Regions from separate parts of the Homo sapiens genome. Here region 1 is linked to region 2. The links are contacts of gene promoters, found by promoter capture Hi-C in blood cells and fetal thymus (Javierre and others, 2016). All regions are on one chromosome and are shown on one strand. Each heading gives the region's core, a stretch centred on a gene start or on the middle of the fragment in contact. The rest is flanking DNA. Distances are from core to core; before and after follow the strand shown.

What was found. Contacts are between HindIII fragments. The CHiCAGO score rates a contact against its expected background, and 5 or more counts as called.
Region 1: a fragment that was not itself captured here is called in contact with the fragment with the promoter of C16orf95 in region 2 in 1 of 17 cell types (M0 macrophages); the score reaches 5.4 in M0 macrophages.

Annotation. Positions count from the first base shown.
Region 1 is chr16:87,644,687-87,650,259 of GRCh38, reverse strand. It overlaps JPH3 (junctophilin 3), which reads right to left. Exons shown (of 5, transcript NM_020655.4): 2 at 5,225-5,573. Among named protein-coding and RNA genes, the nearest start is that of JPH3, 45 kb to the right of the region's middle. The HindIII fragment of the contact is 3,137 bases long and covers 48-3,184 here.
Region 2 is chr16:87,313,129-87,319,010 of GRCh38, reverse strand. C16orf95 (chromosome 16 open reading frame 95) reads left to right here and starts at 1,619. Exons shown (of 7, transcript NM_001195124.3): 1 at 1,619-1,920; 2 at 3,188-3,239; 3 at 3,915-4,040. The coding sequence starts at 1,769. C16orf95-DT (C16orf95 divergent transcript) reads right to left here and starts at 1,502. Exons shown (of 2, transcript NR_135180.1): 1 at 1,289-1,502; 2 at 968-1,154. LOC124903787 (small nucleolar RNA U13) reads right to left here and starts at 4,291; the gene lies at 4,188-4,291. RefSeq lists enhancers at 1,592-2,041, 3,298-3,798. The HindIII fragment of the contact is 6,644 bases long and covers 1-3,167 here.

The DNA.
Region 1 (5,573 bases), core at 367-2,866, 330 kb before region 2:
ACCACTGATCACAGATCACCATGAACAGATATAATCATGAAAAAGCTTGAAATACCGTGAGAATTACCAAAGTGTGGCACGGACACACGATGTGAGCACGTGCTGTTGGGAAAACGGCACCAAGAGGCTTGCCCCATGCACGGGTGCCACAAACCTCCAATGTGTAAAAACACAGCGTCTGCAAAGCACAATGAAGCGAAACCCCCTGAATCAAGGTGGGCCTGCCCCCAGAACAATCCCTTCTCCTCCTCTCAGCTTGGGTTTCTGCTTTGCAAAACCCCTTGGCATCCCTTCACAGCAACGTTTGCACGAGACGCAGCAGAGAGGGGGTCCCAGCAGAAACAATCCCATCAAATCCTGGCTGAGCTTTTGCAGGCTTTGCGGGGCTGCAGGAGGCATAGCTTTCACATGGGCCACCCCGTCTCTCCCTCTCCCGCAGCAGAAGCAGCCAATGGGTCACACTTGAGATGTCTCCTTCACCCTGGGGTTCTGAGCAGGTCCCAGGGGCCAAAGTGGGGAGGGGGACGGGAAGGAGAAACGGGCTACAATCTGCCCCATCGCCCCCAGCTCGGCTTCCACCAGAGCTTTCTGCTTTTATTTGGTTTCCACGGCGGGTGGGGATGAGGGGGCTGTGAGAGTTGTTGTGGCAGAGGGTCTCAGCTGTTGAAAATGAAGCCATGTCACACTGCAGGACTTTCTTCTCTAGGATGGGTGACACATTTACATTCCGATTCCCAACCCAGGGCCTCTAGTGAGCAGCAGATCAAGGACAGCAATTGAGTTTCATCTTCTAGAGCAACCCGGGCTTCGAGGAGGACTGTGATGAATTCCTATGTCCACCCGGGGACAGCGAGGCATTCAGGACAGGCAGCGCCGTGCAAAGGTGCCCTGTGTGTGCCCTCCTGGCAGGAGATGAGTCATGAAAACGTCTTGAGTGTGTGAAGGCAGGAGGGGCCGAATGCCCTGTGGTGCACTGCTAGGCGACACGGCAGGATGGGGCCATCTCAGACTTTCACTAGTGGGAGTTCCCACTGGGGTGAGGCTGACCCCACAGGAGAATGACACAGAAGAGACTGCAGCCCCTTCTCACATGACCTCAGCTCCGCGGGGCCACTGGCTCCCGCCCCTCTCTGCAGCAGAGGGTCTCACCCAGACGGAACCTCCTGGAACCACCAGCTTCACCCCTCCCTCGTCTCCACTGCCACACCCTTGCTGGGCTGGACTCTGCCTCCGACCCGTGTTGTGGCTGCGTGTGTGATGCCTCATCTCCCCGTGGGGCCAAGGCCTCCCGGCGGCAGCACCCACACCAGACAGGAGACAGCCGGGGACGCTCAGGCCAGCAGCATCTGCGTCCTGGGGACCAGGTCAGCATGCAGGTGCTGGGGCCCCCACCTAGACATGATGAGACAAAGTCTGGGGCGTGGGGCCTGACCACCATTTCTACAAGCCCTCCAGGCACCTGGAGAGCCTCGAAGGCTCCGAACACTGGGCGCATCCCAAACAATGATGTCACATGGCCGAGGAGGGTATCCATCCTGTGCCTTAGAACCCATGGTGACTCCACCCTGGGCTGAGTCCCAGCTCCCCCTCTCCCAGCCCAGGGCCGGGGCCAGTCCCCTTAGCAGTGCAGGACCTCAGTCTCTCCGAGCTCCACACCTCCCGCCCCGTTTTCCAGGAAAACCCACTTCCCTTCCCTGCAGAGCTGCTCTCCGGGGAAGGGCCCGGCACTCCGCGGAGGACACCGCAAACCGTTTCTCACTTCACGCGGCCTGACAAGCCCTGCCGGCCGGGGCGGGTGAGGACAGTGCCAGCTGCCCTACAACTCCCTCGCATCTCTCGACTGTGATAGTGGCAGGAGCCCGCCCGGGGCCAGTCACTCCTCAGCCCACGTGGTGCGGCCGCTCTCATGCTCCAGTGGAGGGTTGGCCCTGGGGCTGTGGGCGCCTGAGCCAGCCATTCATCAGCTTCACTCTCCAGGGCGGCAGACTCTCTTCCCTCCTTTTTTTCCTTTTTTTTTTCCCCAAATTCTAAGTCCATTGAGAAAGCACAGCTCCAGGCCCTGCAGCCCAGAATGCAGGCTCATCCTCCATCCTCTGATGACCAAAAATACTGTGTAGCCTCCCACCTCCAAGGGTCGCACCAGTGAGCTCACAAACACACCTGCCTCCCATGCCTGTCACAGCAGGGCTGGGGGAGGATGACACCAATGGAGATGGTGCAACCACAGGCCCGGCCCCACGCCGAGGCCACTACAGGGAGCAGGGAGCCCCGCCCCCCTTCAGCAGGGAACCCAGCCCAGAGAGGGGAGGCGACCGGCCTGGGGCACTCAGCCACGACAGCCCAGGCTGGATGTGGGTCTGCGGGTCTCAGAGGCAAGGGTGAGACGCCAGTTCCTAGTGCCCCTTTGAGGCCTGACACCTCCTCTCTTGGACACTTTAAGTTCCAGTGACCTGGAGACCTCCACCTAGGCGCACCTGTGCAGCCGTACACCCTGGCTCCACAGGTGCGCATGGACGTGCTGGCTGTGCACAGCGGTGAGGAGGCCGTGAGTGGTGTGCAGAGCCGTGTGTGTGGACAGCAGGACATGGCGGGTGAGCCAGTCCCTTTCTCACAAAGGAGCTACGATCCAAGACCCCAGTTGTGCGCATGCGGAAGCAGGAACCACCTCCCTCCCCGCGACGCCCGCTCGGGCGAAGGGACGGAGTCAGCTCGGACTCCGCCAGTGCAGAAGGCAAGCCGCAACCTGCCAGGGAGCATGGGCTGCTGGGCCTCAAAGGCTGTCGGGGGGTTGGCAGGGGGTGGGCTCCGTCAGTTTCACAGCTGCACCAGCCTGCAAACCCATCCTTTCCCTCTCACTCCCTCCACCCGTCTGTCTGTCCTTCTGTCCATTAAGTAAAATGCCTCCCCAGGAGACACAGGGATGCTGGCCATGCCAAGGCTGGCTGGCCAGCGTCCCAAGGGCTGGGGACTCAGTAGGAGCCGTGCCCACCCCACCCTGGCCCCGGCTCCTTTGCATGGGTCTCAGGTCTCGCCCTCCCGGCCCAGCCCCTGGGCTTTCACCCCAGCATGATGCCCACTTATACGTAGGCATCTCCCCCAGCAATGCTCCACAGAGCCCCTGGGCCCCCCAAAACCCCAGGAAGAGGTTGGATGCCCCAGGAAGGGAGCTGTTACCACCTAAGCTTCACAGGCCTTCAGAGATTAGAAGTTGAGGTCCAGAGAGGCTGACAACCTGCCTTGGAGCAGCTCCTCACCTGTGCTGCCCCCAGCCCTGTCCATGCCACCTGGGCTCCTTAATGGGAACCCGCTTCTCTTAATGTCTAGGGGAATTCGTCTGAAAACTATCTCAGGTCGCAGGTCCCCCCAGTCCTACAGACATCCACCCAGTGCCAAGGCTGTGAAATAAGCTCAGTCCTGCAGGGCACTGTCCACTAAGTCCTCGAGCTGCTGAGAACTCATGAACCAATGAACTCATGAACCAATCTGCAGGTCACACGGAAGCTGCCACGAGCTTCCTCAATTCCGTGACGCCGCTGTCCCCCAGCCCCCAAAACTGCTTCTTGTCCACTAGGGTCAAAAAAGCAACTATACAAAATAGAAAGGGTCGAAAAACAAAACACAGAGGAAAGAAATTCACCAAAATGCCAAGGAGAGCGCTCGGCCGATCCATCAGACCAGAGCTAATGCTGCTTTCTCCCTTCTCAGTGTTATTTATTTTCCTGTGGAACAAGTATTACATTTATGATGGAAAAAATAACTACTGATTCTAATTTGTTCTTAAAACCCCAGATGAGTAGTCACACGTGGGCTGCTGTTTATTTCCCTGCCTGAACATTTCTGAGGGAGCAGGGAGGGGCAAACAGCGAGTTTGGACCTCGGTGTCAGGTAGTAATTCCATGTTTCTTTCAGCTTCTTGGAATCGATCTTGATTCCCTCTAAAACAATAGAAGTCGCGAGCAACATATTCTGCCAACAAACCGCAGCCACCATTTTTGTTTTTCACTATAGATCAAAGGTCACTGAAAATCAGAACCAAATGGGCTGAACTTTAATTAGCGACAGGTCGGGAAGGGCTGAGCCGCACCCAGGCTGGGAGCTTTCCTGGAGGAACTCCAGGTCTGCCCCTGGCTGAGAACACAAAGCCATCCAGAAAGACGCAGGGGAACGTGCCCTGGGAAGCCTCCTGCCTGGGCAGCCCATGGACTCCCCCGCAGCTCCCAGATCCCTGCCCCAAGACTCTCCGGGCTACCCCAAGGGCCCTCGTCTGGCCCAGGAAAGCAAATGCCGGTGGAAAGCAAAGGCTCTGGGTTTTCTGAAATGCCTTCCCAAGTCTTGACAAAGCCCTTTAGTAACCTCAGTTACTTTAGAACCCAAATGCCTACCTGTGGGGCCCGTGGCTTTCCACAGGGGAACTTCCTCCAACCTGCAGCAGGTGGCTCCTGCCAGCCACAGCTTGGCGGGGACCAGCCCCTGGCTCACACACTCACCTCCACAGGAGCCAGACCCTGGGCACCTTCCTCCAGCCCTAAAGGCCCCATCCTGCACCCACCCCTAAAGGTACCCAAAAGCCACGTCGATCCCACCCACAGTCACCTCTGGACCCATTCCTTAGGGCCTAGAGGCCCCACTGGACCCCAAATTCCGTAAGTCATGCAGCCGATTCAGAACAGCGGCTGCCCCCAAAGCACCAGGCCTGCATGAGCCCCTTGCCAGGCACTCGGAATTGGCCTCCCAACTGCTGCCATCTCCCAGGGTCCCGGAAGAATCTAGATCGCAGGTCTGGGTAGCTGAGGCAGCTCCTAGCCACCTCCCACAGCCCTGCAGTGCTGGACCTGCCACCCCCACCTGGTGGTGTCACCCCTACTAGCTAGCACAGCAGCACTCCAATGCATTGTACTAACGGAACAGACCACCTTCTTTATTCACCAATATTTTACACTAAACATCAGCATATAGAACAAAGAGACACTGCTCAGTTTAAGGAGGCTGTAGGCCTCTACACCCCCACAAATCAACCATTCCTCTGCACCAATCCTGACCACAGTCACCTCTGAGAACCTCCAGGGAACCCTAGGGTTCCATGGGGGCATAGTTTGAGAAACACCAGTGTAGGCCTCAAACTGGGCCTAGCCCAAGGCCTTGAGCGACAGCAGGACTGAACAGACTGGGCTCACAAACACCTTCTGGGCACCAAGAAGGGCCCCCCGCCCCCTCGCCCTCCTACCTGGAAGCCGCGATCTCAGCCTTCTGCTTGGCGATGGTGGCGGCCCGCTCAGCGGCCTCAACGGCGCGGTCCACCTTCTCGCGGATCTTGCTGGCCCGCAGGGGGATGAGGTTCTTGCGCTTGCCGCCGACGAGGATGTTCTGCTTGTACTTGCCCTCCTCCTTGGTGCCGTCCGGGAAGGTCATGCAGCCGTAGCCATGGCGCCGGTTGCTGGCCCACTCGCCCTCGTACTTGAGCCCGTCCGAGCGCTGGCTCACGCCGAAGCCGGAGCGTTTGTCGTTCTTCCACTCGCCCACGTAGGTCTCGGTGGTGGTGGCGTCGATGTCGTCCTCGATGACCGCCAGCTCGG
Region 2 (5,882 bases), core at 370-2,869:
ATGCCATACTTTCTTTTTAAAATCTTTTTTTCCTATGGATGGACATCTGGATCATTTCCAGTTTGGGGCCATCAGGAAGAAAGCTGCTGTGGGTAGTTTTGTTCATGTCTTCTGGTACACATAAGCTCTCATTTCTCTTGGGTGAGTTGAGGAATTAGTTGGTCATCAGGTATTCATATGTTTAGGTTTTGTAAATACTACCAGTTTGCCAATGTGGTTTTATCAATTTCATGAGCCATGTATGAGGGTTCCAGCTGTGACATCCTCGACAAACTAGGTATTGTCAGTCCTTTTAATTTTAGCCATTCTTGGGTGGGTGAGGGCAGTGAAGAGCTATTCTTGACATGGAATGACAAGACCTAGTGTGCCCGAGGTGAAGGCCTGAGCGTCCAGGGGAGCATGAGCCTGTCTTCTATGCCCTGCTGTGCTATGGCAGTGTTTCAGTGTGCTCTGGAGGAAAACAGCAGAGAAGCCGAGTGCTCCAAAGTGGGCAGAAATGAGACAGGCATAATGTGCTAGGCTAATGGTGACTCTTGGAATTTTGTCATTAGCTACAAAGAGGGCAGTGACATGATTTACACACACACACGGGGTGGGGTATCTGAAATATTAGGCAGCTAGTATGGCAGGGGCACCGTCTAATCAGCATGGATGCTGGCCAGGAGAGGACATGTGTATGTGCTGGCTGGAAACAGTCCTGCTCATAGGTCACGATCTTAATGATTAAATAACAAGGCAAGAAATCCGAGAGGGCAGTGCCTGGGAGCACCCTGTTTGCTCTGTGGCCAGAACGCAGCACACTGAAGTATTGCCCATCAGGGTAAGAGGTGCTCGTGATGGTTTGGGCAAATACAAATATTAATCCAGAGTATTTGAGTCTACATGAAAATACTGAAAAGTGAGGGAAGACCCAACCGTTTCCAAGAAATACAAATTGGAACTGGCGATAACTTAAAGAACATAATCAGAGAGGCAGAGGGCATTGGGTTTTACTAAAATATGAAGACATACGTCCTGTCTCCACGTCAGCAACTGCCCAAAGTACACGCGTTCCAGCGAAAAGAGCGGGTGGGGTGGGGAGGCTCAGGGCCAGCCAGAGCTTCGGTGCTTGCACGCCCAGGCCTCCGGGTGACGACTGCTTCCAATTCCGCGCCCTTTAAACCCCATGTTGTTAAAAAAAAAAAAAAAGAAAGAAAACCTATTTCTCTAAAAGTCACGATTCGAGCCCCACCTGAGGACGCAGCGATCCAGCGCCAACTCATTATCTGAGATAAAGGAGTGATTTTACCAGAAGCGCCTATGCAAGACGCAGGGCCCCGCGCGGGCTGCTCCCACCTCTTTCTCTCCTTGCAGGCTACCGAGACCCTGGCTGGGGCGGCCGGCGGCCCCTCCGGCCCATCCGTCGGAAATGATGAGTGGCTCCAGTGGCCGGGGTCCGCAGGACCTACCCCAGCGGGCATGGCGGGAGCCCCGCAGCCCCACACAGCCGCGCTCTGAGCCGCTGACCCCGCGTCTCTCGTGAGGGACCAATCAGCTGCCAGCTAAGGTCACATACCTAGAAGGCCAATTTTGATTGGCTGGGCGCGGGCTAGTCAGCGGGACGGGCGGGCGCGCGGGCGTTGTTGGGCTCCTCTGAGCGGTTGAGGTTGGGGCTGGGGTTGAGCTCGGGTTGGGTTCCTCCTGGGGCAGGAGGGAAAGGCGGGAGCCAGGGCGTCAGGGCCTGCGGACGATGTGTGTGTGAAAGGGCGCGTCAGCCATAAGAAGCCATATGCGTGCGAGCCGGTCCCCACCGTCCCCGCGGCGTTGTCACCATCATCATGAGGCCACTGGAGCAGCCTCAGGCGCTGCTGCCGGGGGGCCGGGCGCGGGGTGCGTCGGGCTCTGCAGGTTGGCACTCACACCCAGCGCGCAGGATGGCAGGCAAGTGAGTCCTGAATCCTGCCCGCGGCTACCCGACACCTCGCCTGTGAGTTCCCGGCCCGGCATTGCTCCATGACCTATGCACAGGCAGAACTCTTGACCGCCACCCACAGGAACCTCACTTACATTGGCTTAACAAAAACGCAACTGATGGTTCCACATAACTGAAAATGTCAGAAGTAGGCCTTCAGGCATGGATGTATCCAGGTACACATTGACCATGGTCCTGGAAGGTTTCTCTCCATCTCTCAGCTTCCTTCCTTTTTGCTGGCTTCCCTTGTGGAGGCAAGATGATCACCAGGACCTCCTGAGGTTTACATGTTATCAGATTATCAACCTCAACAAAAAGGAGATTCTTTTTTTTCCCAGCTTTCCAGGCTGGGCAGTGGTGAGTTTGGCCCACCTGAACTACAAGGACTGAGATGGCTGTGGCCCCCCCCCTCCCCACCAGGAATATAGCAGTGCTGTCATTACCAGAAGGGGCCTCGGATGCTGTGGAGGGCAGTGCCCCATCCTCTGTTTTCAAGCATTATCTGGGAGAGTTGATGCGTGAACCTATTACTCTCACAAAAATAGCAATAATAATAATGGTTATTATGACAATGAAACCCAAAAACACTTATATCGCTCTTACGGTTTCCACATACAAAGCACTTTGACCCACTACTGTCAGGGAAGCAGGGCTTTGCACCCACTGGAGACGCTTCATCCAGCCAACATTCAAGCAGTTTGTTGGGGAGTGGAACAGGGAAGAGCCACACAGGCTGTGTAACCCCAAGTGCTTTGTCATCCCAGAGACAAAGCACCCGGGTTTTTATAGTGGAAGGAGGTTCATTAATGGACAGTTTGACGATGTTTTTTCTTCAGTATTTCAGTAAGTTGAGGGTGTCTGACAGATCATCCTAGGTGATGTGATTGGCAGCTACATGTCTTGGAAAGTTCTCAGCAGGTTGGAATGCTCCTGTCTTTTCTGATGCTCCAAGCACAAGTGTAGCTGGAGTCAGCTTGAAGCTGGTTGGCTTGGGAATGCAGGATTCCATGACAGCCAGCCCCCAGGAGCCCCTAGACATTCACGCATGAGCTAGCACACGCCTGCTTCTGATGTCACCCTCTCACTCTTCTTGGGCTCAGAGGATCCCCCCATCCCCACCACCCGTGGGCTTTATTATTAAGAGTCAGTTCTGAGAAGACAGGTCCAGGCCTGTGCTCTAGCATCCCTGCCCCCTAGTTTACACAAACCCTAAGCTTTTCTGTTCTTCTCTTCTAGGAATAGCACATTTCAAACCTACAAGAAAGAAGTGTGCCTCCCCCGTCATTCGGTAAGGAAAGCAAATCCTCAGCCACTGGCCCTGACCCCAACATATCCCTGTGGGGTGAGGAGAGCAGGGAATGTGGGTCCAGAAGCTGCATCCCATGAGAGAATCCTCCAAACACAAAAGTGTGGTTGCAGGAGCTATCCCTGGGCCTCCAGAACACCTCCCAGGCCCTCACAACACCTCAGAGTTCAGGAGGCCACCTAATATACCTGCTCTGGGCATCAGCTTCTCCGTGTGCCCCTGGAGGTGATGGCAGCACCTCTCCTTCCTGCCTGAGGGTGTTGCGAAGGTCACATGGGATGGATGTGGAAGCTCTTGCACACCAGAGTGTGACAGATGGCCATAAAGGCAGCACTCATGTGCGCATAAGCTCTAGAGCTGCTTGTACATGCCCATTTTCAGAGGGGACCACGAGACTTGCTCATTGTAGCACAGCAGGAAGCAGCTGAGAATCCCAGCGCACCTGATTTGCAAGCTCCGGGGGATCCCCCTCCAAATGACCTTGGAGGCCTCAGGGCGAGCCACGGTAGCCTGCCTCTTTCCAAGCTGCAGTAGGAGCTGGGGACCCTGCCCCCGGACACCATCTTCCTGAGCACGGATCTACTGTGCTTGAGAGCCTCCTGTCTCCCTGCAAATGCAGCATCAAGCTCAGTTCTGTCATTTCTGGATCTTACTCAGATGCACCCTGGCCCCTGGGCCATCTGCTGTGAATGCCAGACCAGATTCGGGGGCCGCCTGCCTGTGTCCAGGGTGGAAGCAGCACTGCCTTACTGGGTCCCTCTGTCCCTGAGACCCCGAAAGCAGGTAGGTGACTTGAACCAGGAGGTCTTCCCCTAGGGTCCAGGGTGAATGTCAGTTGACCAGTCACCCCTCAGAATTAGAAGTATTATATGAATGGATATTTTAACATTTCAGGGAGACAGTTTGATATTATTTATTTATTTATTTTCATGTCAGATGGGTAATGTGCTGTCGTTGTAGCAAGGTCTGAGGGAGGCACACCTCACACATGTGCATGAGTACCCAGTTATCATGCTTATGAACTATAAAAGGATCTGTGATTTTTAAACAGTTTTTTCTAAAAACTAGACTTCTAGAGGTTTGATTGGCATGTGATAAACTGCACGTGTGTCAAATGTACAATGTGGTAAGTCTTGCCGTAGGTATTCCCCCCTGAACCCACCACCACCATCAAGATAATGAGCATATACACAACCCTTAATCATGTCCGTGGGCTCCTTTGTAACTTTACCCAACATTCCATACCCTGACATCCCCAGGCAACCACTGACCTGCTTTCTGTCACTGTAGATTAATTTGCATTTTTGATGATTTTATATAAATGGGGTCATAGACTTTGTACTCTTTTGTCTGGCTTCTTTCACTTGGCATAATTATTTTGAGATTCTTCTATGTGATCATGGGCATCAATAGTCATTCTTTTTATTATTGAGTAATGCTGCATTATGTGAATAGGCCACAGTTTATTCATTCGCCCAGAAGGACATTTGGGTTGTTTCTACTTCTTATGTGTTACACACAAAGCTGCTATGAACATTTGTGTACAAGGCTTTGTATGCACATATGCCGTCATTCTTCTTGGGTAAATACCAAGGAGTGGAATTCCTGAATCATATGGTAGGTGTATGTTTAACTTTAAAAAAGAAACCTGTTGACTGTTTTCCACCATTTTACATCTCTACTAGCAGTGTCTAAAGTTCCAGTTCCTCACATCGTCACCAACACTTGGTTTAGCTGATGTTTTTAATTTGAGCCATCTTAATGGGTATCTGTCTCATCGTAGTTTTCATTTGTATACCCGTGATAATTGGTGATGTCAAGGATCTCTTCATGTGCTTTTGCCATCTGCATGTCTTACTCGATGAGGCATCTGTTTGTTTTGCCCCTTTAAAAGAATTGCTTTTTTAAATTACTGAGTTTTGATAGTTCTTTATATATTCTAGATACAAATTCTAGATACAAGTTCTTGATCCGAGATTCAATTTGTAAATGTCTTTCCATGTCTTTGGCCTGCCTTTCCTTTTTTGAGACCGGGCCTCACTCTGTTGCCCAGATTGGAGTGCACAATCATGGCTCACTACAAACTTGAACTCCCTAGCTCAAGCAATCCTCCCCCCTCACCCCCCAAGTAGCTGGGACCACAGGCGTGCACCACCATACGAGGCTAATTTTGTTTATTTTTCGTGGAGATGAGGTCTCACTATGTTGCCCTGGCTAGTCTCAAACACCTGGACTCAAGTGACCCACCCGCCTCGGCCTCCCAAAGTGCTGGGATTACAGGCATGAGCTGCCACCACACCTGGCCAAGCCTCTTTTCTTAATAAATTACACTGCCTCAGCTATTCCTTTATGGCCATACAAGTGGACTGACAGTTGTTCATATATGTATGAATTTATTTCTGAACCCTCTTCTCTTCTGATCTAATTGTCTATCTTTATGCTAATACTACACTGTCTTGATTATTGTGTCTTGACTTTATAATGCCTGGAAATCAAGTAGTGTTCATTTTCAAACTTTGTTTTTCTTTTTCAGACTTGGCTTTTCTCTTTTTTTTTTTTTAATTTCCATGTGAATTTTAGAATCAGTTTGTCAGTTTCTACAAAAGTACCCTACTGGAATTTTGA